Linked DNA regions of Homo sapiens: region 1 is linked to region 2. Evidence: promoter capture Hi-C in 16 types of primary human blood cells and fetal thymus (Javierre and others, 2016). All regions are on one chromosome and are shown on one strand. Each heading gives the region's core, a stretch centred on a gene start or on the middle of the fragment in contact. The rest is flanking DNA. Distances are from core to core; before and after follow the strand shown.

Region 1 (2,700 bases), core at 90-2,589, 88 kb before region 2:
ATGTGGTAAAGCATTTACGCATTCCTCCAGTCTTAATAATCACATGCGGACCCACAGCGCCAAAAAACCATTCACGTGTATGGAATGTGGCAAAGCTTTTAAGTTTCCCACGTGTGTTAACCTTCACATGCGGATCCACACTGGAGAAAAACCCTACAAATGTAAACAGTGTGGGAAATCCTTCAGTTACTCCAATTCGTTTCAGTTACATGAACGAACTCACACTGGAGAGAAACCCTATGAATGTAAGGAGTGCGGGAAAGCCTTCAGTTCTTCCAGTTCCTTTCGAAATCATGAAAGAAGGCATGCGGATGAGAGACTGTCAGCATAAGGAATGTGGGAAAACCTAAAGGTGTCCCTGTTCTCTCTGAAGACATGAAAACTCACTGGGGAGAAACCCTATGAATGTAAAAATGTGGAAGCAACTTTGTATCTCAGGTCTTAATGAACACATATGAATTCACAGTGGAGAAGACCCTGCATCAGGGAATGTGGAAATGACTTTGCTGAATTCTCAAGCCTTACCAAACACATCAGAAATCTCACTGGAGAGAAACTGTATGAATGTAGAGAATCTGGGAATACCTTTCTGAATCCCACAAACCTTAATGTGTGTATGTGAACTCACATTGGAGAGAAACCCTGCAATTTAAATGGTATGGTCTGGATGATGCCCCACTCCATATTTGTAAGCCCTAAGTCCTAGTTCCTTACACTATAACTGTATTTGGACATAGGGTTTTCAAACAGGTGAGTAACTTCAAATGAGGTTGTTGGGTTCGATCCCTAATCTGACATCACTGGTGTCCCTATAAGGGAAACTGAAGGAAGGATACACATGGAGAAGACTGTGTGGATCCACCAGAAGATGGCCATCTACAAGCCAAGGACAGAGACCTGGAACAGATGCTTTCATTATGGCCTCCAGAGGAAACCAACCCTGTCTCCACCTTGATATTGCACTTCCAGGCTCCAGAACTGTGAGGCAATAAATTTCTCTTGGTTAAATCATTCAGTCTGTTATTTTGTACAGCAACCCTAGGAAACTAATACTGTGAGGAACTTGGGAAAAGCTTTAGATCAAGCTTGTCCAACCCGCAGGCCAGGATGGCTTTGAATGCAGACCAACACAAATTTTTAAGCTTTCTTCAAACATAATAAAATTTTTTTGTGATTATTTTTTCCGTTCATTAGCTATCATTAGTGTTAGTGTAAACACAAAAGCAATCACAGGAGAGACGTTCTATGAATGTAGGACATGTGAAGAAGTCTGTAAGTGCTCATCAGATCTTAATACTCACTTCCAACTCTTGTGGTGATAGGCCCTGTGAAAATCAAAGACCATCAAGAAGAGAAAGTTTCTTTTACTATGAAAGTCATAAATGTGACTTCACCCAACATTTAGTGACTTAGAGTGGACTGAGGCTCCATTATTAGTAATGTGGAGAGATTTCATTAAATGTTTATACCTTACATGAGAAATAAAAATTCACAGTGTAGAGAACACTTCTGCTGTAAGGCACGTGGGAAAGCTTTTACTAATTCCACGAGGCTCATTTTACATATCTAAAATTAGACTGCAAGTGAGCCAAGACCCCTACACTCCATCCTGGGTGACAAAGCAAGACTCTGTCTCAAAAAAAATAAAATAAAATTAGACTGCAAATGTCCTGGGAATGTAGGGGAATGTATGGCAACCTTTAAATATCTCACATGCCATAATGTTAACATGAAATCTCACATTGGAGGAAGAACCTGTGTATCCCAGGGATATGGTGTCACCTTATTTCATTGCTCAAGCCTTAATATCTTTGTGAGAATTCACACTGGGGTAAAACCCTGTGATTATAAAAAGGATGCAGGAAGTACTTCATTTGCTTCTCATATCTTACTGTATCACAGTTCATAGCCATGTGAATGTAAGAAATATGGGAAAGCTGTCAGAATCTCTTCACAACCCAGCAGGAAGTAACTTGCAATGAGACCACACAGTCTGTGAAACATGGAAAGCCCTTTGCTGTTATCTCAGGGATTGCTTAAGTAAGGTTTTGCAGTAGAGAGAAATCCTATTAGTGTAAGAGGTTTTGGAGAGTGGTAGTTCAGCTAAATAATGTTGACTTCTCAGATTGGAAAACTCTGACCAATTGAAAATGTTTTATTACTCTTTTAAAATATCCGTGTTCACCTGGTGCAGTGGCTCAGAGCTGTAATCTCAGCACTTTGAGAGGCTGAGGTGAGTGGATTGCTTGAGCTCAGGAGTTCAAGACCAGCCTGGGTAACCTGGTGAAACCCCGCCTCTACAAAAAAGACAAAACTTAGCTGGGCATGGTGGCTTATGCCTATAGTCCCTGCTACCCAGGAGGCTGAGGCAGGAGAATCATTTTAGCCCAGAAGGAGGTTGCAGTGAGCTGAGATTGTGCCACTGCACTCTAGCCTGGGTGACAGAGTCAGACGCTGTCTCAAAACAAAAAATCCATGTTTCAGAGCAGTTTTAGGTTCACAGCAAAATAGTGTGGAAGGTTCAAAGACATCCTATATTCCTGCGGCCACTACATATGCATAGCTTCCACCATCATCAACATACTCCACCAGAGTAATACATTTGTTAGAATTCATGAACCTGCATTGCCACTTCATTATCACCCAAAGTCCACAGATCATCGGTCCTCCCACTATTCCTCCCTCCCTCTCCCCAGCCCG
Region 2 (2,700 bases), core at 109-2,608:
ACAGGCGTGAGCCACCACACCTGGACTAAAGACATTTGTTTTACTCGAGCTACAGATGTTCTCTAGATCAGTATTTGTTTTTTTTTCTTCTTTTTGAAACAGGGTCTCACTCTGTTGCCTAAGCTGGAATGCAGTGACACAATAATGGCTCACAGCAGCCTCGACCTCCCATGCTCAAGTGATCCTCGCATCTCGGCCTCCAAAGTGGATGGGACCACAGACACCACCATGCCCAGCTAATTTTTTATTTTTAGTAGAGACAGAGGCTTGCCCTATTTTTTCCAGGTTGGCATCAAATTCCTGGGCTCAAGCGATCCTCCAGCCTCAGCCTCCCAAAACGCTGGGATTACAGGTGTGAGCCACCTTGCCCCGCCCTCAGTAAGACTTTCAAATGAGTAACTGGTAGAAAACCCACCTGTCAAAAGTTATCTTCGCATTCATTATCAATTCAATCCCTCCTGCTAGTAAATCAGCCCGCACCGTGTTCCTGGGGATGCCCTCGTTTTGAACCTCTGGGGGAATCTACAGGGCGCTAGAGTGAGATCTAGGTGATGGCCTGGAACCACAGTTGAGTAGTCCTGTGTTTTTCCTTGGTGGTAAATTTTACAGTTATGTGCATTCATCCACTCATGCATTCGATGGTATCAGATCCATGTGCTCTCGAACAACCACCTGAAAAGGTTTCTTTCCACCTCGACACAACTTAAACTTCAAGACCCGACACCCACAGCCAGAACAAGTGCATGAAGTGCTCACCGGGACACGACAGAATTGTCAGGTTGCTGAGGCCAGGAGGACACCAAGCGAAGGTCACCGTGAACAGGAAGGCAGAGATGCTGTTCCTTATAGAGAAAAGGCACAACGCTGGATGTGGAGACTTTTTTTTTTTTTTCCATTAGAGATGGTTGGGGGGGGGGGTCTCCCTATGTTGCCCTGCCTGGTCTTGAACTCCTGGCCTCAAGTAATCCTCCTACCCAATCCGCCCAAAGCGCTGGGAATGACAGGCGTGAGCCGCCGCGCCGGGCCCTATGAGGCTTCTGCAGAGGGGAGCAGGGAAAATGGAAAGGCCGTGCCCCCCGCCTCCTCCCGGGCCGAGGCCCCAGCGCAGCCGCCTCGACCCCTGAGGACAGACCTGACTGTGGCTCTCAGAGGAGGGGCCGCGACTTGGGAGAGCCCACAAGATGCTCGAAATGCCCGAAAGTGCACGGGACAGGCTCCATTTCACTGGGCACCTCCCCTTTCCACCCTTCTACTCTCGCGTGGCTGCACCGGGACACCACCGAACGCCGCCCAGAAACAAAAACTTACCTCAGACGCCAACGGGAACGCGCTGTTAAGATGGCGGCCGTTATGCGCATGCGCCCACGCAGACACGCCGCGCACGCGCAAAGGCTAGGACCACCTAGGGGGCGGGGCCTCGGGTTCCCGGGCCCATCAGCTGCTGCGGCTTTTTCCAACCCAGAGCTGAGAGGAAATGCTGTTTACCTCCCCGAAGAGCGCAAGTGTCACCGGTAGGGGGTCTTGACTGCAAGCTGTCCAGGTTACTGGCGTTTTGAACAAAGAATTAGACAAAACGCCCAGCAAAGCAAAGAAAGAATGAAGCAACAAAAGAACAAGAGCTGGGATTTGTTGAAAACGAAAGCATACTCCACAGTGTGGGAACTGGCCAAGCGGCAGCTCAAGGGCTCCGAAACAGAACCTTCATGAGTCCCAATACCTCCTAGAATTTTCCCATTGGCCACTTCATGCTCACCTCCTGTAAATGAAGCGGTAGCCCGCGTTCAGTCTGATTGGTTGCAGAAAGCAGCCAACCAGAGTCTGAAGTTACAAAGGTCACACTCCTGTGCAAACATCTGATTGGTTGCAAAAAGCAACCAATCAAAGGCTAGGGTGAAGTTACGACGTTACAAAGTTACACTTCTATGCAAATGAAGACTCAACCGGCCATCAGTCTGATTTGTTGCAGACAGCCAATTTCCTATCTGCCAGCAGAAAAGGTCAAAGGGAGTAGCCTCTGGTCCTTTTGTTATTTAGGCGAGGAAAGTGAGGGTTTTCCTTTCAATTTAGTTCTAGGAAGTCGGCCTGAAACAGCCTTAAGTTCCCTGCCTCCCGACTCTATTCAGCCTCACAAGGGCTTGATTTTTGGTCATCTCACACTCAGAGACTAGAATGCTCCTATTGGAATTTGTTCAAAAATTAGCACATAGAGGCTGGGCCTGATGGCTCACGCCAGTGATCCCAGCACTTTGGGAGGCTGAGGCAGGCAGACCACTTGAGCTCAGGAGTTCGAGACCAGCCTGGGCAATATGGCAAAACCCTATTCCTATAAAAAAGACAAAAAACACAAAAATTAGGACGTAGTTAAGAGCATAGATAAGATTCATGCGGACTTCCTAAAAGTGAAAACACCAAGATCTGGGGTCGGGGAATCTAAGGCCAATTCGTGATAATTTCCTAAAGTTAAATCAAAGGAAAAACACCTGGGGCTGGGGGCAGGGCACCTAAGGCCAATTAACACAAACTTCCTGAAGCTAAACCAAAAGGAAAAACCCCATCTCCCCAAGATCAAAGACTACTCTCTCTACAGTAAAAAGTAAAGTAGAGGTTCCTCTTCAAAGACTTTCCTGCCCATCTAATTAGGAATAAATAGTAACTTCTGTTAGAAGCAAAATTTATTCAAAGACCTGTACTAATGTGTCC

The links. Contacts are between HindIII fragments. The CHiCAGO score rates a contact against its expected background, and 5 or more counts as called.
Region 1: a fragment that was not itself captured here is called in contact with the fragment with the promoter of ZNF559 in region 2 in 5 of 17 cell types (fetal thymus, naive B cells, total CD8 T cells and 2 more); the score reaches 6.4 in fetal thymus.

What each region holds. Positions count from the first base shown.
Region 1 is chr19:9,410,906-9,413,605 of GRCh38, reverse strand. ZNF266 (zinc finger protein 266) reads left to right here. Exons shown (of 11, transcript NM_001370374.1): 11 at 1-1,177. The coding sequence ends at 331. Among named protein-coding and RNA genes, the nearest start is that of ZNF266, 23 kb to the left of the region's middle. The HindIII fragment of the contact is 390 bases long and covers 1,145-1,534 here.
Region 2 is chr19:9,322,837-9,325,536 of GRCh38, reverse strand. It overlaps ZNF559 (zinc finger protein 559), which reads right to left and starts at 1,358. Exons shown (of 7, transcript NM_032497.3): 1 at 1,309-1,358; 2 at 757-842. ZNF559-ZNF177 (ZNF559-ZNF177 readthrough) reads right to left here and starts at 1,358. Exons shown (of 13, transcript NM_001384659.1): 1 at 1,309-1,358; 2 at 757-842. RefSeq lists a silencer at 955-1,094 and an enhancer at 1,265-1,514. The HindIII fragment of the contact is 3,488 bases long and covers 1-2,700 here.